7 separate regions of the Homo sapiens genome follow, and regions 1, 3, 4, 5, 6 and 7 are each linked to region 2. The links are contacts of gene promoters, found by promoter capture Hi-C in blood cells and fetal thymus (Javierre and others, 2016). All regions are on one chromosome and are shown on one strand. Each heading gives the region's core, a stretch centred on a gene start or on the middle of the fragment in contact. The rest is flanking DNA. Distances are from core to core; before and after follow the strand shown.

Region 1 (3,480 bases), core at 401-2,900, 480 kb before region 2:
AGTGATTGTGTAGATAATGAAGAGTCTATTAAATAATGAGTATGTTTATATTCAGTAATTACATTGCTAGGAATATATGCAAATGATATATTTGACAAAGATGAACACACAAGACCTTTCACCTTGATTTTTTAAATAAATGTGAAGAAATGGAAAGCAATTTATGTGTCCCATTTGGAATTATATAGTATTTGGTTTATATAGAGCAGATTACTGCTCTATGGATAGAAGTAGCCTTTGAAAAGTATAGGATGTTGACATGGAAAACTAAATACAATATACTTTTAGATTTAAAAAAGGGATTTATAAAACAGTATGTATAATTATGAACCACTTGTGTAAATACACACAAATAGTTACGTAGACATAATTTTTTTAATAATAAAACCATAAATAGTGGTTATCTTATAAAAGAGGAACTATGGGGTACTTCTTACATTTTCTGTATTGGTTGAAATTATTATATGGAGTATAATAGTCCTCTACTTTAAAATAAAAAAAAATCCATTTTAAAAAGAATTTAATTAAAGTGGAATGTAGGTAAAGTTTCTGTAGATAAAGAAGGCAATAAAACTATTACCTTTATTATATTTTGCTAATTATATTTTGTGTATTAGTAGAAGTTATCCCTGGTTGATGGCAAAACCTGGAATAGAGAAGTCACCTATAATAACACAGAATATAGTCCAGGCACGGTGGCTCATGCCTGTAATCCCAGCACTTTGGGAGGCCCCTATGGTCGGATCACTTAAGCTCAGGAATTCAAGACCAACCTGGGCAACATGGTGAAAACCCTGTCTCTAATAAATATACAAAAATTAGCCAGGCATGGTGGTGCACGCTTGTAATCCCATCTACTTGGGTGGCTGAAGTGGGAGAATCGCTTGAACCCAGGAAGCGGAGGTTGCTGTGAGCCGAGACTGTGCCACTGCACTTCAGCCTGGGTGACAGAGTGAGACCCTGTCTGAAAACAAACAAACAAAAAAAAAAAACCATAGAATATAGGCTGGGAAAATTGTTAGATGATAGCAGCAAGCAATAAGGTAGCAGATGACATAACTAGATGAAGTGGCTTCACAGTGTAATGGTTTTTATATGAACATTGAGAACTGATGGTTCAGAAGAGAGACTGGGGTGAGGAGGACTTAACTTCTACTTTCTAACTCTGAAGGCCATTTAACTGCTGAATAGCTTCATCTCAGCAGAATTTGAGGACAGAGGACAATCACTTTCCTTAAGGAAAGGTTTGGAGGTAAGAATAGGGAAAGAGAATGAGAGTGTAAAATGGTTTGTCATGGAACCGGGTATTACAGGAGCACAACAGAAATTGTTGGGATGGAGGGGAGCAGTGGGAGTCTGAGACAGAGGACAGCAGCTTGGCGATGAAAGGCAGGAGAGGCTGGGCAAGGAGAAGTGATAACAGCTGCATCTGTGGATGTCAAAGCAGCAACCTCCCTTGAGAAAGTTGCCTTTAGCTTCTCGGGATTTGGTAATCAGGATTTTAAAAAGGGTGTCAGGGATATGGATTCCTGGCCCACAGACTCCAGGGAAAAATAACAGACTATGTCTCTTCTGAAGCAGGATGAGAAAAAAGCCCTGGAGGTCAGAGGCTGGATCCTGGTCTTCAGTTCAACTTTCAGTAATCTTCTTGAGATTGTGTATAAAGTGGTATCTGAAGAGGAGGCCCTGACAGGCTGCTTTTCTTCATCTTGCTCCTTAAATTCTCCCACTCTCTGTCATTAACTCAGTGACTAAATTGTCTTTGTCCTTTTGGGCCCCAGTCATATATCCTCCTCAGACTCTGATTTCTTTACTGGTTGTAACTGGAAAGTGACCTGAAAGTTAGCAGTGGGAAACCAGGATCTGTGTTGATTGATTCAGTAGACTTAATTTTACACAAAATGTTTAGTAAATAGTCTTGGAGGGTAGGAGATGTTGACTCTCCTCACCAGAGAAGTTCAGCTGGGCTTTTGGACAGCAGGATATTTCTGCTACCCTGAGATTTGTGGCTATATCCTAAAGGGTTGAGATTATTCTTAAGAAGGATCCCCTGATAAGCAGAGTTTTTTTTTTATATTGTAGTATTCTAAGTTTATTACCCAAATAAATATTTCCTTGAGATTTCAAATTGAAATAGTTGTATTTTTTTATTAGTGACCCATGTTCTTTTAAGATGTCTTTCAAGGCAGAATTTTCAACATGATTATGCATCTTTTACATTGTTACCTTAATCATGAATTATTGAAAAATTTTATCTACAGCATTCTATAACATCTCTGTGCTGTGATCTGATAAGTTGTCATATTTATACCAAGAAATTTTCAGTCTCAGACTCTCCCGTAAGCACATGAAGTATATGTTAATACTAGGCAGATAAGTGTGCATGAAAAGATGCTCAGAATTATTAGTCATTAGAGAAATACAACGTAAAACCACAATGACCACTATAAACTTACTAAAATGGCTACAATTTTAAATGACAGACTATACCAAGTGTTGGCAAGGATGTAGAGGATCTAGAACTCTCATTCTCTGCTAGTGGAAATGTAAACTGAGGCAAACATTTCAAAAAAAAATTAAACATGTAATTACCATATGATCCAAACATTCCACTCTTAGGTATTTACCTAAGAGGAATGAAAGCATGTGTTCATAAGAAAGACTTGTACGTGAATTCTCATAGCAGCTTTATTTGTAGTAGCCAAAAGCTGGAAACAGCCTAAGGGTCTATCAACACAAGAATGGATAAACACATTCATGCAACATAATACTACACAGAAATAAAAAGAAGTGAAATATTGCTAGATGCGGTGTCTCACACTTGTAATCCCAACACTTTGGGAGGCCAAGGCAAGAGGATTGCTTGAGCCCAGGAGTTCAAGACCAGCCTCAGCAACATAGTGAGACCCCATCTCTACAAAATTTTAAAAAATTAGCCAGGCATAATGGCGTCCACCTGTAGTCCCACCTACTCGGGAGGATAAGGTGGGAGGATGGCTTGAGCCCAGGAGGTTGAGGCTCCAGTGAGCCATGAATGTGCCACTGTACTCCATCCAGCCTGGGCAACTAAGCAAGACCCTGTCTCAAAAAAAAAAAAAGTGAAATATTAATACATACAACAGCATGATGAACCTCAAAATAATTATGCTGGAGTGGAAGAACAAAGACAAAAAAAGAGTATATGCCACATGATTGCATTTATATAAATTTCTAGAAAATACAAAGTAATCACAGTGACAGAAAGCAGTTCCAGTGGTTACAACTTTTGAGGATGATGGATGCGTTCATTATCTTGACTGGTGCGATTTACAGGTATATACACATGTGAAAACTTATCAAAATTTTAAATATGTACAGTTTATTATAAGTTAATGATACTTCAGTCAAGCTGTTTTTAAAAACAATATTATATTTAGATTTGGTGCTTTTGATACTTTTTTATTTCAGGGAGGAAATCCTTCAACAATCTTTGTGGGAAAG
Region 2 (3,519 bases), core at 347-2,846:
GCGGGGAGAGGGCGGGGGCGAGGAGCAAACTTGGAGGCCCCCACCTCGCCCCCGGGCTGTTGCGAATGCGGCTTTCGGCCGAGTGAAAACCCCAAGCCCGAAAGTGAGGGTGGGGAGGCGGGGGTTGGAAGAATTCCCCACTCTCCACCCCGGGTGTGCGCTCCCCGCCGGGAAGAGCTGACCTTGGCCTGGGGAGGCGGGGGTGGGGAGAGAGGGTAAGCGCCGGGGCTCGGCTCCCAGCCCGCCGCCCCCTCGGATTCCTGGCCCGGCGGGGCCGGAGGAGGGGGCCCCGGACACACACACACACACACCCCCCACACGCAGCGCGCGCCAATGAGCCCGGGCCAGGCGCAGGGGGCGGGGTTTTCCCAGGCTCGAGCACAGCAGCTGCTATTTACCTTCTTGGCTTCTCCCGGGGACCAGGAACCGGCCCCCGCTCTCCGCCGCCCGTCGCCGCCCCCCGCCTCCCTGCCCCCGGGGCGCGCGCACACACACTCACTCACACACGCACGCACACACACATCCTCCCGGCCCGGCCGCAGCCGCGGCGGCAATAAAACATCCTGGCACGTGCTCCGGCTCCAGGCGCGCCCACGCCGGCCGGCTGATGTCAAACTGCAGCTCGGCTGGTGTAGCTCTTAAAGGGCCCGCGGGCGCCGGGGGCCGAGGCCGCCCGCGGGGCGAGGAGGGAGAGGCTGCTTCCTTGCCCGCCACCTCAACGCGCCGCAGAACCTAAAGCCTACGGATGAAAAGGGAAAGGGTGGTGAAGGAGGGCGCGAGTCCCTGAGTCATTGCCCTCGGAGCCCCCCTTGTTCATTTTTTCATTTGAAATACCGTTTCCTTCCACCCAGTTGGAAATTATTCTGATTGTTTCCTGGGGAAGCCCGGGGTCTAAGGCCCCAAATCCAAACGAGGAATTTCTGAAAGACGGGGTGGGGGTGGGATTCAAGAACTACCTTGCTCCGAAAAACCTGCATTTGTGAGGTAGAAGGCAATTTTTCCTTTTTCTGCATGGAAACAGGAAAATTTTTTTGGCCCTTTTCCTTTACCATCTACTTTCACCCTCCTGAATGTAAAGTCTGAGCGGGAACTTTAGATGTGTCGGTAACTCACATTCTTACACCCGTCCCCCCCTCCCCCCGCCCCCTTTTAACCACTGCTGTTTTTTTCTTTATTGTTTATACCTTTAAAAAAAATATGTTTCAAATGAACTTACTACAGTCAAAGCAGCTCTGTTACATATGAGAGAGGGCATAAAGAGCAAAGACCCTGGCTCCAAAAGAAATAGACAAGATCAAGACCAAAGCGGAAAGAAAAAAAAAATCTCTAAACCAAAGCCCAGAGGGAGAGTAGCAAAGGGTTAAAATCCTTTTGATTGACGTTGTAGCCTCCGGTGCCCTGGGCTCAGGCGCGCGCCATTGGCCGCCAGACCTTGTGCCTGGCGGCCAATGGGGGGGCGCGGTCCACGAGCGGTGCCGCGTGTCTCCTCCTCCCATTGGCTGAAAGTTACTGTGGGAAAGAAAGTTTGGGAAGTTTCACACGAGCCGTTCGCGTGCAGTCCCAGATATATATAGAGGCCGCCAGGGCCTAGGGATCACACAGGATCCGGAGCTGGTGCTGATAACAGCGGAATCCCCCGTCTACCTCTCTCCTTGGTCCTGGAACAGCGCTACTGATCACCAAGTAGCCACAAAATATAATAAACCCTCAGCACTTGCTCAGTAGTTTTGTGAAAGTCTCAAGTAAAAGAGACACAAACAAAAAATTCTTTTTCGTGAAGAACTCCAAAAATAAAATTCTCTAGAGATAAAAAAAAAAAAAAAAGGAAAATGCCAGCTGATATAATGGAGAAAAATTCCTCGTCCCCGGTGGCTGCTACCCCAGCCAGTGTCAACACGACACCGGATAAACCAAAGACAGCATCTGAGCACAGAAAGGTAAGGGCGGTACCTGTATCTCTTTGCAGCCCCTCAAAATTAAGTAGGGGTTGGGGGGCTTCTTTCTGTCTTGAAACCCCGGGATGGCAGATTCCATGGGAACACAGAACTCTTTTTTTTATTTGCAGTCATCAAAGCCTATTATGGAGAAAAGACGAAGAGCAAGAATAAATGAAAGTCTGAGCCAGCTGAAAACACTGATTTTGGATGCTCTGAAGAAAGATGTAAGTGGGGAAATGCTGCTCGCTCTTTTAATTAAAAAACAAACACTTTCTCAGCTACTAAGAGTGAAACCCCCCGCCCTGCGGGGTCTGGCACTCGCTGGTACTGCGTTCTCCCAGGCGGGAGGGCCCGGCCTTATTCGCTGGGGTCCAGAGATAATGCTTGCGCTCCGTGGCCGGGAGGAGGGACCCCCAGCACTCTGAAGCAGCTGACACGGGGCTCACTTTCCTTTCTTGCCTACTCTATGCAGAGCTCGCGGCATTCCAAGCTGGAGAAGGCGGACATTCTGGAAATGACAGTGAAGCACCTCCGGAACCTGCAGCGGGCGCAGATGACGGGTGAGGGCGGCTCGCCGCGTCCCCCTGTGCGGGCGTCCCGCTCGCCTCGCGGTGATTTCTTCCAGACTTCCGCCCGTGGTTGTGAGAGGCATTCAGCTACATTTTACTGCCTTGGCTCACTCTTGCGTTCCCACGGTCTGGGGCTTATTTATAGCCACAACTCCAAGTTGTTACTGTTCCGGAAAGGGAGGGAAAGAGGTTGCAGCCGCGAGGGTGGCGGGCGCCGGGTAGGGGCGAAAGGACTTAGGACTGTGGCGGTTTGGAACTGCGTGGAGCCTGGGGGTCACTGGTTTAGCACTCCTTCCCGTTGCAGAAGGGGAAATGAGGCTTGGATGATGGATTGGGAGGCATTGTCCAAGGTCACATCGCGCGCGGGGGTGGGGGTGACAGATCTGGGGCTGAGATAGGTTTAAATGCAGCTACAGGGAATCGGGAAGGAGTGGCTCGGCTTTTGGCAGCAACGCTAGTGTGGAGAGGTGGCTGGTTTTTTCTAAACCCATCTCACCCTCCCTGCCGGAGGCAGTTTCACGGGCGCATGGTCAGGGAGGCGCGCCACAGGGACCTCCCAGGGCGGAGGCAGTGGCCACGGGGCCAGGGCCGTTCGGTGACCCGTCTGTCTCTTTCTGGCCCGCAGCTGCGCTGAGCACAGACCCAAGTGTGCTGGGGAAGTACCGAGCCGGCTTCAGCGAGTGCATGAACGAGGTGACCCGCTTCCTGTCCACGTGCGAGGGCGTTAATACCGAGGTGCGCACTCGGCTGCTCGGCCACCTGGCCAACTGCATGACCCAGATCAATGCCATGACCTACCCCGGGCAGCCGCACCCCGCCTTGCAGGCGCCGCCACCGCCCCCACCGGGACCCGGCGGCCCCCAGCACGCGCCGTTCGCGCCGCCGCCGCCACTCGTGCCCATCCCCGGGGGCGCGGCGCCCCCTCCCGGCGGCGCCCCCTGCAAGCTGGGCAGCCAGGCTGGAGAGGCGGCTAAGGTGTTTGGAGGCTTCCAGGTGGTACCGGCTCCCGATGG
Region 3 (3,052 bases), core at 19-2,518, 460 kb before region 2:
TGCCTGGCTTATTTTTTGTATTTTTAGTAGAGACGGGGTTTCCCCATGTTAGCCAGGATGGTCTCGATCTCCTGACCTCATGATCCGCCCGCCTCGGCCTCCCAAAGTGCTGGAATTATAGGCATGAGCCACCATGCCCAGCCCTGACTGCCCTTTAAGATGAGTACATAAGTAGTAGTAGTACATTTTTCTTTCACATCCTGGAGAAGATATACTGTGTTCACTATTGAAATGAAACCATAAAGCTAGAGTTAGGAAGATTGAAGAAATGAAAAAGGAGCTCACATGATTTTGTCTCAGGAGAGGCTCTTCCAGGATTCTTTGGAGATATGGTAGATTCCATAGCTGGAGCAGGGAAAGGACAGGATGAGCCTGTGGGTGTAGAAAGGAAGGGAGTGCTTGAAAGATGATGAGGAGATGTCAGCAGGTCACAGAAACCCTCTGAAGGAGGCTCCAACTGGCCAGGCTGGGGACAATTTGGGCCCCAAAATAATGACAGTAACAAATTGTAACTCATTGAATGAAATAGGAATCCATACATTGGTAATTATATAAATAAGGGAATAAAACCATGATGCAAAAAGGGATGTTTATGTCATCACGCAAAATATGTTCACAGAAAATATGTACTAATTAAAAGAGGGAAAAGAGTAACTTTACAGTGGATGAAGCCTGGCAATCATCACTTTAAGCAAGTGGTCAGAGTTAATATTATCAGTAATGGTCAAATCAAAACCATATGCAAGAAGACTCTAAAATGCAAGAAGACTCCTGAAGTACTTCTTACCAAAGATGTAGAACTTAAATTCAGTCATAACAATACATGAGACAAACCCAAGTTAGAGCACAGTCTGCAAAATAACTGGCCTGTAATCTTCAAATGCATCAAGATCATGAAAGACAAGGAAAGAGTGAAGAGCTGCTCCAGTTGGAAGAGACTTAAAACTAAATGCAATGTATGATCCTAGATTGGATCTTTTTGCTCTAAGGACATTAATGGGCCAGTTAGTGATATTTGAAGGGGATCCGAGGGTTCCATTGTAGTAATATATCAGTGTTAATTTTTAAATTTTTATTAGGTTGGGATTATTTTGGAAAATACCATTATTCATAGCGAATACAAAGTAGAATATTTGGGGATGATAATGCATGATTACAACAAATGTTTCAGGAGAAATATGATCTTTGTAGTGGTCTTGCAACTTTTCTGTAAGTCTGAAATTGTTTATGCATAAAAGGTTAAAAAAAGGTTAAATTTTGTTTTTATAACTAATAATGGATTAGGGTCATGTGAAAGTACTTTAGAGGAAATGAGACTTTTGAGAACATCATCCCTGAAGACGTTGAAACACTGAGTTACCTCATGGATAATTTAATAGGATATGCAGCTGATTTTTCTACCTTAATTTCTTGTTTGCAGTATCTACCCATACTTAGAATTGTCTGGTGTTAAAATATGCCCACTGGGACTTTCATGAAATTCTTTTGATTTTCTAGAAAATTCAGTTTCAAAGGATTTTTTAAATAGATATTTTAAGTTTGGTGTCAACTTAGATAAAATCTGTTTGGAGTCCCAGTGTAAGTTTTAGTAATGTGTCCAATCTGTTTATTGAAATAGTATAACTTTAGAATACTTTCTTTGGAGAGATGAAGATTGGTATGTTATAGTTCAATTCAAAGTTGTTCTTTCTATTATGATCTATTTTATAATTCATAAAATCTATCTTATGATTGTCATCATAAGTGCAATTTGTTTTTTGCCCCATTCTACCTCAGAAACTAAGTATCTGGGCATCAATAACAATTGGTAGTAGTGTTTGCTGCTAAGCCAAGTTTCACCAGTACAGTGTGGAATTATTTTATTGTTTTTTCTGTGAACATTGTATCTGCTGTTACTAGGTTATTGTGAGGTATTGGGCCTTCATAGAAATTGCCTGGAACCCTTGTTCACTAAAGCCTGTTACACTTTTTATTCTCTGTGCGTGTAATCAGAGACTTATTGATACTGACACATTCAAGGGGCATTATTGATCATTTAGATTGCTCTAAGACCTAAGGAGTCTTGGCCGGATGCGGTGCCTCACGCCTGTAATCCCAGCACTATGGGAGGCCGAGGCGGGTGGATCACCTGAGGTCAGGAGTTCGAGATCAGCCTGGCCAACATGGTGAAACCCCGTCTCTACTAAAAATGCGAAAATTAGCTGGGCATGGTGGCAGGCGCCTGTAATTCCAGCTACTCGGGAGGCTGAGACAGGAGAATCGCCTGAACCCGGGAGGCAGAGGTTGCAGTGAGCCAAGACTGTGCCATTGCATTCCAGCCTGGGTAACAGAGCGAGACTCCATCTCAAAAAAAAAAAAAAAACGAAAAACAAAAACCTAAGGAGTCTTTTCTCCTTATTTTACAATAAATTCCTTTTGATTTTGTGTAAAAACTTGAAACTGTTTATGAATGTAAAATAACATTTGAATACTTTTCTTGTGCCAGATATTAGGTTAAATGCTTTATGTGAATTTTCATTTGATTCTCACAACTTTTGAGTTAGGTAGTTATTTTTCTCATTTTACAGATGAAATGGAGGGTTAGGAACTCGTAGGTAGTAGATGCTGAAGCTGAGATTTGGGCCTGGGTCTTTTCACTACTGTGCCAGAATCATTTGGGAGGGAGTAAAAACTCAAGCCTTTGGAAAATATGATGACATAAAATTGTCCTTTATATTGAGAAGCTTCCATAGTTACCAGTGTCCTTCACAGGGTTGATCGGAAAGACATACATGTTAGTGATGATGATAATGATGAAGATAATCATTATTACCACAGGTACTTCCTATAATATAAGCATCTTTCAAATTGTATGAGAACTTTCATAGAACATCTGAGTAAATGAACAGTACAGTGTGCATGAAACCACTAAGCAAACCAAGGGAAGTTAATTTTCTTTATATGAATTGTAAACATGTCTCTAGATATCCTTTATCAGATTCCACCATGCGTAAGTAGTGTCTAAGTTGCCCCATATTTAGAGTTTTTCAATGAGGTTGTGTTCCTACTTAGA
Region 4 (3,130 bases), core at 606-3,105, 450 kb before region 2:
GACCGTACGCAGTGATCAGGCCTTGTTCTAGACACTGAAGACTCTGAGCATTTTTGGGCCCATTTTGTACTCCTGTATTGTTCTCCAGGGGCTTCTCCAAGTGTGCGTCAATTTAGTCTTCTCAAGAGGGCATCATTTTCATCAGAATATGATAGCATATTATGGAGTGTCCGGTCATCCTTAGGCATAGACTACTTAGGAGGTGTAACTGTTTTGTTCCCTGATTTTTACTGAAATGGGTCTTTTCTTTTTTTTTTTTTTTTTTTTTTTTTTTTTTTTTTTTTTTTTTTTTTTGAGACAGAGTCTCGCTATGTCACCAGGCTGGAGTGCAGTGGCATGATCTCAGCTCACTGCAACCTCCGCCTCCCGATTCTCCCTGAAATGCGTCTTATTTTAAGTCAAAGGTAATACTTAAAAAAGACCAAAGAGACTTAAAATAACAGCATTTGCTTCGTCACTATGAGCTTTGTTATTATGAGTTAACATACAGTAGCAGACTGGGTGTAGTAGCTCACGCCCTGTAATTCCAGCAGTTTGTGAAGCCGAGTGGGGAGGATTGCTTGAGGCCAAGACTTCGAGACCAGCCTGGGCAACATAGTGAGACCCCCATCTTGACAAAAAAAATTGTTTTAAATTAGCCAGGTGTGGTGCTGCATGCCTGTGGTCCCAGCTACTTGGAAGGCTAAGGTAGGAGAATCGCTTGAGCCTGGGAGGTCGAGGCTGTAGTGAGCCGTGTTTGCATCACTGCACTCCTGGGTGACAGTGCAAGACTCTGCGTCAGACAAACAAACATCGTAGCAGATGTGTTTCTTAATCAGAGAAGTGTAGACAAGGCTAACTCCAGGCTTTAATGTCCTCATATTTAGCAATGATACCTGCAAGGTTGTATGAGAACCAAATGAAACGCCAAATTTGGAAATACATAGTAGATACATCATAGCAGAGTAAGCCAGGAATGCTTCTCAAAGGTAGGATATCATCTGTGTCCTCATATCACTTTATGAAGTACATTGTGAAAGTGAAAGAACAAAGAAATAAATGTTTTTTAGTTAATGTTTAAAGGATACATTTATCATAATTGCTCTTTTAACACTCACCTCCAGTCTCCCCTCCGTTCACACCTCCTACCCCCATTACTTCCTGGTAACTTAGTTAAGTGTCCTTTGTCATTCCTGAGGTTTCAAGGCATGGTAGTACTGTGTCCTGATATTCTAATCGTAAATATTTAAGGGAAATTCGGCATTTTTTCATTTTGTGGTTTTCATATTAAAGTACATTAAATAGTCTTTTTGCTTTTATTTAGGAAAAAAACTGCTTACCTGTTAATTTTAGAAAAATCTGATTTTCATTTAGACCTTACAGGGTGAGACACCTGCATCAGGGTGGCTCTTGGTATCTTTCAATTCAATTGGATCTTCTCTGAATAGTCTCTTGTAGGGAGTGAGGCTGCTGTACCACCTCCCTGCAGTAGTCCATCCAGCTTAAGATGGGGGTCACCAGTAGGCCAAAAGAATGGGTAGACCTGGCCATGCACTGCCCTATTGTACTCAAATCGTGTATCAAATGGAGTTGGATTTCTTCTCTTCATACAGTACAGCATTTCCAAGTAGAAATATTTCTCAATGAAATGTGGAGAGAAGCACCCGTTTGAGATTCCCGTGTGTTGTGTGATTTAAGTTAGATGGTTTTTTAAGACCACATTCATTTCCAGCATTCTAGGTAACAATTTAGAAAATGTCTTTCTCCTAACCTCCCCACTTTTTAAAAATCCTCCAACTGATGAACTGATGTGAAACTTTCTTACATTCACTGAAAAAAAAAAAAAATAGGTTAAGCTGTTTCTAAGCAACTAGATGAATTAATTTTTAAACTAAGAATGTGGCCTTATTTTGGGAAAACAAGAATATTTACTTGTTTGTCTGCTGTTTAAAAAATGGAAGTCAGCCTACCAAAAAATTGAGACTCAACTTCTAGGAGATGGGTTAGGATTTTTTTTTTTAAGTTTCTCTAGTTTAATTTTATATATAAGGGGTTAATGCTACCTTCATAATAACTATTATCATATTTTCTCAATACATAGCTTGATTAAAACAACTGGACTCCCCCCCCACCCCACCCCACACACACACAGATTTTATATCAGTCTGAATCTAATGCCTAGAATAAGAAGTGCTTCAGCCAGGCATAGTGGCACTCACCTGTAGTCTCAGCTACTCAGGAGGCTGAGGCAGCAGGATCAATTGAGCCCAGGAGTCTGAGTCTAGCCTGGGCAACATAGTGAGACCTAGAAGTTTTAAATTACTGGAAAAATAATATGAAAAGAATAAATTACTGGAAAAAGAATATGAAAATGTTACGTTCTTTATATCCAACCGTGGTAGGCTTTTTTGAGTTCCTGCAATGCTAATAAGAATTCATAAAAAGGACAATTCTTCATTTTCTTGGGTACTCATCACTAATAGCTGCCTCGCTGGTAAAAAGGAATACATGTATCTTCAATTGCAGATTATTTACTTTTAAATATAAAAGATATAAATGTCAAATATTAAATGCATCTTACATGGTTTTCCTACATAGTGAAAGTAGAATGCTTGCCAGTTTTGCCTCTAGGTCACTCACTTTGAACCAGCCAACCCACCTTAATTGATCATTTCCACTAATATGTTAAATTACCTTAAAAGAACAAAAATATTTATCATGCTTACTATAACCTGTGTTTTAAAATAGGAGGCCAGGCACAGTGGCTCACACCTGTAATCCCAGGACTTTGGGAGGCCAAGGCAGGAGGATCACTTGAGCCCAGGTGTTCAGGACCAGCCTGGGCAACAAAGTGAGATCCTATCTCCACAAAAAAATTAAAAATAAAAACTTAGCCAGGCGTGGTGGCACGTGCCTGTGGTCTTAGCTACGTGGGAGGCCAAGGCGGGAGGATCACCTGAGCTCAGGAGGTTGAGGCTGCAGTAAGCCCTGCCAACACCACTGCACGCCAACCTGGGCGACAGAGTAGGACCCCCATCTCAGAATATAAAATAAAGTAGGAGGTGCATGTGAAGTAGTATAGATCATGACTTTTCCAATTTTAAGAGGGGATTGGCATGTACTATGAGCAGTTCACATTTGTGGAGGAAAT
Region 5 (2,517 bases), core at 18-2,517, 500 kb before region 2:
CTGACAGCCCTCTATTCAAAACCCTGCTCCTCTACTAAGTGACCTTGGTCAGGCTCTCAGATATTCCTCGCTCTTTATTCCTAGTCTGTGTAATTCCTGCTTTATGGGGTTTTTGTGAAGGCTAAGGGAGTTAATGCGTTTGCACCACTTACTAAGGAGTCTGTCACATAATGCATGCTTGGGTACTGCTAGCTATTATTTTATAGCATCTTAATTAAAATCTAAAATAATGTGAAGAAAGGGAAGAATTTGAATTTTTGTTAAGTGGCCCTGTAATGTGAAGACTTAAAATTTTGATATAATAGGAAATACTCCCTTCTAGAATGTATTTAAGAACTACTTCTTTAAATTCTTACGTTTTCACTATTTCAAAATAATTTTTTCAATGTGAGTAGCAAGGAATTTTCCAAGTGAAATTCTTAATTATGATAGAAAATTACAATGATTTCCACTGTTTGTAAGAGATAATAGTCATTGTTTATTTTATTCCTAATGTTTTCGTAGATGCTTTTAAAATGTAATACATTTTAAATAGGAGATATGACTTCAAGATTTTGGAAGATTTTAATTTAGACTTAATACTATTTGATAACCCATCTTTTGCTTATATAGTTACACTTATTATTTTATTGCAGTTGAAGTATCAGAGAATCTTGGAACGATTAGAAAAGGAGAACAAAGAATTGAGAAAATTAGTATTGCAGAAAGATGACAAAGGCATTCATCATAGAAAGCTTAAGGTATTCTAAGTTTGTCTTGTTTATTCTCAAAATTTTACCGCTTAACGTTGTGTGTTCATCAGTACCAGTTTCTAAGGAGCTGTAAAGTATTCTGTCATCCTTTTCTTTCTAACCTAATGTGCTTGGAGGATGGAGGATCTCTTCCTATATTAAGACATTTTATAAGTTGTAGTCTCCAAATACTTGTTTTATACTATGCCCATAAAATCTTTACACTTTTAAGAGTTATTTCGTGTGAATCAGTTTATTTTTCTGAAATATCTAGTTTATCTCTAGGCTTAACTTTTACATAAAATTTTATATAAAATCAGAATTGTTAATTGATGGACATGTAAGTGACTTATCATCATTGCTTTACTTGTATGCCAGTGAATGATTAGACCACTTTCTTCAGTTTTTAAAAAATTAACACTTTTCTTCTAAGGAGAGCTTTCTTAGGCATTTCAAAGAACTTTCGAAAAAGTGTGTGCTGGTATTGTTACTATCAGCACATTGGTGAACTTATTTACCAATAAATCAAGTCTTACTATTCCCCACCCAACTAAACCACATGTGCTAAATTGAATTGAAACAATTATTTAACTTAAATCTCATATAAGTAAGCAGAGTTTATATGTAGCAAAACTGCAGTAAATCATGGCATGTACATTCTGTAGTCAAGGTCCAAAGATAATACAGTTCTAGCTTAACAAACATGCATTAGTAGCTTTGACTATAAATCATGACTGCATAAAACAGATAACATGACTATTTACAAGTGGCACTTAGAACTGAGAAAAGTCATTTCCAAGTGCTAATATATGTAGAGTTTACCTCAGAAACAGTATTTTCTCTCATAAAATGCAGTGGCAATTAACATTTTTTGTTTATTTTTAGGCTGGTGGGTTGGCAATTGCTTGCCATTTAATTTTTTCTAGGGATTAAGAAATGAAAGGACCCTTAAGCCATCATTTTGCTCCTGCCTTAGCATTAAAACTTATCCATAATTATTAAATGCTTGATGGTACCCCTTTTTTTCAGGCCTGTGTATTTTTTTGTTCATTCATTCATCAAATTTACATGAAGCTTGTTACACGCAATGCAAGGCACCACATTCATTTCTGATTCTACAGCAAGAAACGATACAGGATATTTGCCCTTGCTACACTCATATTTCAGCCTGCCCAGTTGTCAGTGGATACTTAACCACCCTTACTGGTTTAACAGTCTTCCTGGTTTATCCTTTATTCAGATGCTTGCTTGCACGTGCTCTCTGTCCTCTCTCTTTCTCTCTCATGCATGCCTCAAACTTAGCAAAGAATAATTTCATTGTCAGTTGGTTACCTGACCACCTTTTTTTTGCCTTTTTGGTGTTAATGGTCTTTTCTTGCATTCAGTATTAGCTCATCAGTATTAAGTAATAATTTCCATCTTATTTAATTAGAATGTTAGGAAATCCTGAATTAATTTACTTTATTAAATCATTGTATCTAAATAAACTGAATGAGAAATGGACTTTTAATCTGTACCGTTTTAGTTTTTACGATGAAGATGTATTTATGTAATTTGAGAAAACAGTACAATGATTATGGAAAAACAATTTGAATTTATCACTTTTTTCTCTTGACACATCTGTTATATTTTTTTCTTTACTTTTACTGTTTTATATTATAACTTTTTAAAATTTTTACAGAAATCTTTGATTGACATGTATTCTGAAGTTCTTGATGTTCTCTCTGATTATGATGCCAGTTATAATACGCAAGATCATCTGCCACGGGTATGTGAAAAATTGATA
Region 6 (3,463 bases), core at 264-2,763, 370 kb before region 2:
CCTAGGATGAGAGTTGAGGTTGAAGACAAAAATATAAAGTTTAAAAACAATGTTTAGGGGGATAAACTGTAACCAGTTCAAATACTCTATCAAGGATAGTTCTGTATAAAGTTCTTTCAAATCGTATAAATTATTTAAGAATGATTCTTACAAACATAAGCAGATTCAGCTATGGCAAATGGAACCCTGATGAAACTGGTCATTAATTGTGACCATCACAAAATTGTCAGCCATTCCTGTTCGAATATATGTGACTTTTTATATAAGAAGACCTGGCGCAGGCCGGGCGCGGTGGCTCACACCTGTAATCCCAGCACTCTGGGAGGCCGAGGCAGGCGGATCACGAGGTCAGGAGATCGAGACCATCCTGGCTAACACGGTGAAACCCCATCTCTACTAAAAATACAAAAAATTAGCTGGGCGTGATGGCGGGCGCCTGTAGTCCCAGCTACTCGGGAGGCTGAGGCAGGAGAATGGCGTGAACCCGGGAGGCGGAGCTTGCAGTGAGTGAGCCGAGATCCCGCCACTGCACTCCAGCCTGGGCGAGAGCGAAACTCCGTCTCAAATAAATAAATAAATAAATAAATAAATAAATAAATAAATACCTGGCGCAGAGGTATTGAATATGCATAACTGAAAATATACAGTGTATACTATCATAAATACAGAAGAACATGTGGGTCTTCACTGTCTGTTCTTACAGAGGAATCCAGTAGCTGTCTCACATCTTCATGAGATGTCTGCTAATGTGGGGTTGGAGGCAATGAAGAATGCTGGGTACAATTGACATAAGGGAGTTTTCAGAAGGCAAGGGAAAATATTCTGGGTATAATTAAGGAACCTGGAAATTAACAACTTGATGTCATTAAAAGTTGAGGGGAAAGTGGAATAAGCCCTTTTGTTCATATATGACTATAAAAATATGTTTTTGCATGATTTTGAAATGTCAGTCCTAGTTAGAGTTGGGCTTTTCAAAGTGTACTAACTCTCAGAACATATAATGTGATGGAGTTGTTGTAGGATATTCTCAGGGTCTTCTCCGGTCAAGCATTCTCAGAGTTGGGCAGAGGGAACACCTGGCCTTGGCTGCAAAGTGGCCTTCCTAGGACTCTGCCTGCTCCCGGATGAAGCACTGCTGACCTGCAAGCTCACTGGGCTGCCGACAAGCTGCTGCGGAATCACAAGAAATTGGGAGATCCCTTCAGGAGTGAGGAAAATGGGATGCTTCCTCAGCCCAGGGAGGATGTGGAGCAGGAACCCAGAGGGAGGGGAGGCCCTCAGAGTCTAGGCAGCCTGCACTGGAATAACTGGATCCTATGCCCCCCTCCCTCTCTCTGAGGACATTATTCCAGTCATTTCCTTATCTTGCATCCTCAATTTCCCCTTCTCTATTACATCATTGTCAACAGCCTAAATAGAAACCATAAACAATATCCCAAGTGTCCCTTCGATTGTCCTCTTATTTCTCATTTTCCCTGTACTGCCAAACACGTTGAGAGGTTTGATTTGCCTTTTTTTTTTTTTTTTTTTCAGAGACGGAGTCTCCCTCTGTTGCCCAGGCTGGACTGCAGTGGCCCAATCTCGGCTCACTGCAACCTCTGCCTCCCGGGTTCAAGCCATTCTCCTGCCTCAGCCTCCCGAGTAGCTGGGACTACAGGTACACACCACCATACCCGGCTAATTTTTATTGTATTTTAGTAGAGAGGGGGTTTCACCATGTTGCCCAGGCTGATCTCAAACACCTGAGCTCAAGCATTCCGCCTGCCTTGGCCTCCCAAAGTGCTAGAATTACAGGCATGAGCCACCACATCCGGCTGAGAGATTTGCCTTCTCATGCCATCACCAAATTTCACTTCTCCAACTCTCTCTGGGTCCTGCTGTGAGAATTTCCCCCAATCCCCCACCTCTCTGCCCAAACTGCTTTCATCAAGGCCATTGAGGGGCTCCATCCCATGGTCAGTGCTCACCTCTCATTTGTCTTGACTATCAGTGGCACCTCACCTAACAAATCACTTCCTCTTCTTGAAGTTCTTTTCACTTTGCTTCCCAGGCACCACACTCTCCTGATTTCCTCCTAGTGGGCAGTTCACACTTCTTGGTCTCTTGTGAGCCTTCCTCCTCATCACTCCAGCTGCTCCAGTCCTCTGTGCTCACCTCTCTTCTCTCTCTGTACTGGTCCCTGGGAGATCTCATTATTCTTTTTTTTTTTTTTTTAATTTTCACTGCCCCAGTCAAGGGAGACCATTATTCTTATTAGAATATGCCCCTAGGTTTATATCTTCATTTTTCTTTGGCTGCTATAACAAATTACTGGCTTAGTGGATTTAGTAGCTTAAAACAACACAGATTTAGTCTCTCATAATTCTGGAGATCAGAAGTCTTACGGGGCTAAAAATCAATGTGCCAGCAGAGCTGGTTTCTTCTGAAGGCTCCTGGGGAGAACCCATTCGTTGCCTCTTCTAACTTCTAGAGGCTGCCAGCATTCGTTGGCCTGTGGCTATTATTACTCTAACCCCTGCTTCCATCATCACACCATCTTTTCCTCTTTTATTCCTCTTGTGTCCTTCTAAGAGCCATGGTGATCACATCTGGATCATTCAGGCTAATCTCAAAGTCCTTAACTTAATCAAACCCTTTTCCCAAATTAACACTCATGGGTTCTGGGGGTTAGGGTGGGAACATATTTGGGGGATCATTATTGGGCCTACCATACCAGCTCGGACTTCTTTCTGTCTTCAGACTTGGATACCCAGTTGTCTACTCTGCTACTGTACTGGAATATTTAATAGGTGTCTTAAAACCAACATGATAAATGAGCTGTTTCTCTTGAAGTCTTCTTCATCTCAGTTCATGACAACTCCTTCCTTCTAGTTGTCCAGCCCAAAAACTTTGCAGTCTCCCTTAATTCCTCCATTTTTCTTACATATCACGTTCAATGTCAGCAGCAAATTCAATTGTCAGCTCGTCTCAACTCAATGTTGGTGCTTGTCTAGATTATCTCAGGCCCCTCTAAGTGGTCTCCCAGCTTTCTGCACTGCCCCGCTGCAGTCTGTTTTCCACGCAGCAGCCTGAATGATCCTGCTAACACCTAACTCAAATCGTGCCGCTCTTCCTAAAGTTCTCCAGTGACTCTCTATTTTACTAATAATACCCACCAGGTCCTACATGACTTGTGCCCCCGTCATCTCTCTGCCTTCATCTCGTGCCACTATTTACTCTGTCCCAGCTACACGGGCACCTGAGGCATGTCCCTGCTTTGGGGCCTTTGTACGGCGCCTCTCTCAGATGACCATATAGCTCCATCTCTCATACCTCTCAAGTGTTTTCTCAAATGCTACTTTCTTATAAAGATTTCCCCAACCTCCATAGATAAAAGTAGGTTCCATATCGTCTCCACACTTCATCTTGCTCTAGCCTCATTTTCTGCTTTATGTTTCTCTGTGCCTTGTTTCTCTTCCAGTTT
Region 7 (3,268 bases), core at 437-2,936, 350 kb before region 2:
TGGTCTGCAACCCTCTTCAGTGAGATCCCAGACAGGGACATAAGCATTCTTGTTGCTTTGCTGGGAAAGCACGATATGCCAGCCAGCAACCGATGTACATCATCATTTGCTTGAAGAAATAACATGAGCTTGTGACTCCTGGCCACACTCTGGGTAGCAGGAGGAGCACAGTCTGAGGTCAAAGGATGTCACAACTCTCAGCCAGGCTGGCTGAGACAGGTTCTAAAACAACCCTTTCCAACCTACTGCTCTCCTACTCCCAGGACCTGGAGCCACTGACCCTGCCATGGAACAGGTTGCATGATGTTTTACATCAAATTGTATTGATTCTTTGGTGAATAGGTAATACGTTCTCATGGTTTAAAGTTTAAAATGGTACCAACGATATAAAGTAGAAATCCTCCCTCCTACTCCTTCCTCCCATCACCCATCTTCCACTTCTAGGAACAATGTTTCCAGCTTCTGGTGCATTCCTTCAGATGTAGTCATCATGGATACAATGCAAATAAGTAGGTATATGTGTATCCCTATTCCTTTTTCCTTTTTAAATACAAAATCAGTGTATTATACTGTTTACCACTGCCCTCACCTTTAAAAAGTTTTTTAGATTTTTTGTAGAGATTGGATCTTGAGATGTTGCCCAGGCTATCTTGAATTCCTGGCCTTAAGCGATCTTTCACCTCGGCTTCCCGAAGTGCTGGGATTATAGTTGTGAGCCACTTGAACTCCCTCCTTTTATTCACTTAGCACGTATACCTGCAAGTTTGTGACTTGAAGGGGTTTAAATTTACCCTCTTCTGCACCAGTGGTCCGAATGTGAACCCTACACTGTGAACCCAAGACAAAACACAATGCAGGCTGGGCATGGTGGCTCACACCTGTAATACCAGCACTTTGGGAGGCTGAGACACACAGAGAGCTTGAACCCGGGGGTTCAAGACAAGCCTGGGCAATACAGTGAGACCTTATCTCTACAAAGAAACAAAAAAACAAAAAAACAGACCTAGTACTGTGTGCTTGCAGTCCCAGCTACTCAGGAGATTGAGATGGGAGGACAACTTTGGCCCAGGAGGTAGAGGTTGCAGCAAGCTGTGATCACACCACTGCATTCCTGGACTGTAGAATGAGACTCTGTCAAAAAAAAAAAAAAAAAAAAGAGATGAACCTCTCATTTAATGCTTGTTAAACAGATAATCTCCACATAGATATAAAGAGATGACTGCAGATGCATTCTTTTTTGCATCTCCCATGTACATTTTCCAAGAGATTTTGCACTGCTCTTTGGGGGGTGTGACCCCTACTTTATAAGGACAGTAATCATCCAGGGACTGACATGATTTATCCAAACTAAGCTGCTGCCCTATTTGAGCTACTCTGATTTTGTGCTTTGGAGGCATTAGAGTTGAGCATCTGAGAACAGAGAGACTTGGCTGAGTTTTCTAAATAATAACTTCAATATACTCAGATGCGCTAGGAAGAAGTCACGCTGTCAATATGATACGGTCAAAGGACTCAGGTTTCTCCTTCCACCTTGAACTGAAGATGACACATGCACCAAATCATTTTTTTCTAAGCTTTCTTTTAGCTTCCATGGCTGCAAAGCAGTGATAATTCAACTTGCCATTAGGGTTTTAAGTACTCCCAGGTATTAAATACCTAGCATTAAACAGTACAAAAATATATTTTTAAAAATACCAACTAGGAAAGTGCTAAAATGACACTCTGTCTTTGCCTAAGTATACTATGAGAAATGGAAAAGCTGGCCTCTGGGGGGCCATCTGCTGAGCCCAGGAGTCTAGGAAGCTTCGATGATATATGTGCAATCACTGAATTATGCTGGAGAAAAGATCTAAAACAGACATGGTTTCAGAGCATTCATGATAAATGGTTCTTCACAAATTGAAGCTGATTATTTCTCTCCCTCACATTCCCAAAGAGGTGGTCTCTGCTTTTAAGCAGAGTTCATTCCTGGAAACTCCATCTTAAAGGGAAATCCTAGTCTGATTGTATAGTTAAGGGTCTCTCTCTTCAAACATGTTCAGTCTCATGAGAGAACTGAATGGATGAAAGTGACAGGAAGGAAGAATAGGCACATTTAGACCCCGTCAAACAAGCGTGGCAAAAACTGAAGCCTGCTTGAAATGATGCTCTGTAAAGAGAATGCAGTTTCGTATAACGAACAATTGGTGCAGTTATTGAATAATGTAGATGGCCGTTGAAGTGAAAAAGTGCAGATGGAGACACAGTAAGACCTGACGCATGCCTGGGAGATTTAGAAAATGGTTCCCCAGGCCGGGCGCGGTGGCTCACGCCTGTAATCCCAGCACTTTGGGAGGACGAGGTGGGTGGATCACGAGGTCAGGCGATCGAGACCATCCTGGCCAACATGGTGAAACCCCATCTCTACTAAAAATACAAAAATTAGCTGGGTGTGGTGGCGCATGCCTGTAATCCCAGCTACTCGGGAGGCTGAGGCAGGAGAATCACTTGAACCCAGGAGTCGGAGGTTGCAGTGAGCTGAGATTGCACCACTGCACTCCAGCCCGGAGACAGAGCGAGACTCCGTCTAAAAAAAAAGAAAAGAAAAAGAAAATGGTTCCCCAAATGGAGCCCACTGTGTTGCCCCCAGCTTTCTCTTCCCTTCACCTGGGCCCTTCTTCTACCCTGAATATCTTGGCCCAGGGTAAGGGACAACTGTCGTAGAGAGCCTTTCTGTGCCTCAGTTTTCTTCATAGGAAAGTGACCATGCAGCAGTCCAAGGACATTCGCCAAATGCTGCAGAGCCTGGGAACTAACCGCCTCCCTTCCAAGCCTGATGGAAGAAATGGCCTCCCTTCTAAGCCTGGTGGACCTGGGACATCTGAGACCAGAAAACCAGAGGCCAGCTGATTAAATATTAATAGTTAGCTGTTATGGGAAGGTCTCTTGAAAGAGTTCAAGACCAGCCTGGGAAACATATGGAGACGCCATATCTACAAATAGTAAAATAAGTTAGCTGGGCATGTGCCTGTCATCCCAGCTACTCAGGAGGCTAAGATGGGAGGATCACTTGAGCTCAGGAAGTTGAGGCTGCAGTAGCTATGATTGTGCCACTGCATTCCAGCCTTGGTAAGAGAACAAGACTTCATTTCAAAAAAAAAAAAAAAATCCTGTAATCCCAGCACTTTGGGAGCCTGAGGCGGGCAGATCATGAGGTCAAGAAATCGAGACCACCCTGGCCAACATGGTGAAACCCTGTCTCTACTAAAAATACAAAAATTAGCTGGGC

The links. The method cuts DNA at HindIII sites, captures the fragments that hold promoters and counts their contacts. A CHiCAGO score of 5 or more calls a contact.
Region 1: a fragment that was not itself captured here is called in contact with the fragment with the promoter of HES1 in region 2 in 5 of 17 cell types (naive B cells, total B cells, activated CD4 T cells and 2 more); the score reaches 10.0 in naive B cells.
Region 3: a contact is called between a fragment that was not itself captured here and the fragment with the promoter of HES1 in region 2, in 3 of 17 cell types (naive B cells, total B cells and naive CD4 T cells). The highest score is 12.4, in naive B cells.
Region 4: a contact is called between a fragment that was not itself captured here and the fragment with the promoter of HES1 in region 2, in 9 of 17 cell types (total B cells, naive B cells, megakaryocytes and 6 more). The highest score is 17.1, in total B cells.
Region 5: a contact is called between a fragment that was not itself captured here and the fragment with the promoter of HES1 in region 2, in 2 of 17 cell types (total B cells and naive B cells). The highest score is 5.8, in total B cells.
Region 6: a fragment that was not itself captured here is called in contact with the fragment with the promoter of HES1 in region 2 in 4 of 17 cell types (erythroblasts, megakaryocytes, total B cells and 1 more); the score reaches 8.8 in erythroblasts.
Region 7: a contact is called between a fragment that was not itself captured here and the fragment with the promoter of HES1 in region 2, in 15 of 17 cell types (M0 macrophages, megakaryocytes, erythroblasts and 12 more). The highest score is 36.2, in M0 macrophages.

What each region holds. Positions count from the first base shown.
Region 1 is chr3:193,651,415-193,654,894 of GRCh38, forward strand. It overlaps OPA1 (OPA1 mitochondrial dynamin like GTPase), which reads left to right. Exons shown (of 31, transcript NM_130837.3): 22 at 3,448-3,480. The region is part of intron 4 of LOC102724808 (a long non-coding RNA gene); the gene reads right to left. Among named protein-coding and RNA genes, the nearest start is that of OPA1-AS1, 26 kb to the left of the region's middle. The HindIII fragment of the contact is 3,832 bases long and covers 1-3,480 here.
Region 2 is chr3:194,134,552-194,138,070 of GRCh38, forward strand. It overlaps HES1 (hes family bHLH transcription factor 1), which reads left to right and starts at 1,597. Exons shown (of 4, transcript NM_005524.4): 1 at 1,597-1,937; 2 at 2,066-2,161; 3 at 2,410-2,497; 4 at 3,132-3,519. The coding sequence starts at 1,830. RefSeq lists silencers at 25-564, 3,291-3,490 and enhancers at 1,555-2,754, 1,564-1,723. The HindIII fragment of the contact is 7,369 bases long and covers 1-3,519 here.
Region 3 is chr3:193,670,523-193,673,574 of GRCh38, forward strand. The region is part of intron 29 of OPA1 (OPA1 mitochondrial dynamin like GTPase); the gene reads left to right. LOC102724808 (a long non-coding RNA gene) reads right to left here. Exons shown (of 5, transcript XR_924835.3): 3 at 286-372. Among named protein-coding and RNA genes, the nearest start is that of OPA1-AS1, 45 kb to the left of the region's middle. The HindIII fragment of the contact is 2,906 bases long and covers 1-2,721 here.
Region 4 is chr3:193,688,203-193,691,332 of GRCh38, forward strand. The region is part of intron 29 of OPA1 (OPA1 mitochondrial dynamin like GTPase); the gene reads left to right. Among named protein-coding and RNA genes, the nearest start is that of OPA1-AS1, 62 kb to the left of the region's middle. The HindIII fragment of the contact is 6,511 bases long and covers 1-3,130 here.
Region 5 is chr3:193,634,783-193,637,299 of GRCh38, forward strand. It overlaps OPA1 (OPA1 mitochondrial dynamin like GTPase), which reads left to right. Exons shown (of 31, transcript NM_130837.3): 9 at 636-740; 10 at 2,413-2,499. Among named protein-coding and RNA genes, the nearest start is that of OPA1-AS1, 8.7 kb to the left of the region's middle. The HindIII fragment of the contact is 1,071 bases long and covers 733-1,803 here.
Region 6 is chr3:193,760,849-193,764,311 of GRCh38, forward strand. No RefSeq gene overlaps it. Among named protein-coding and RNA genes, the nearest start is that of LINC02038, 81 kb to the right of the region's middle. The HindIII fragment of the contact is 5,071 bases long and covers 1-3,463 here.
Region 7 is chr3:193,783,240-193,786,507 of GRCh38, forward strand. No RefSeq gene overlaps it. Among named protein-coding and RNA genes, the nearest start is that of LINC02038, 59 kb to the right of the region's middle. The HindIII fragment of the contact is 229 bases long and covers 1,573-1,801 here.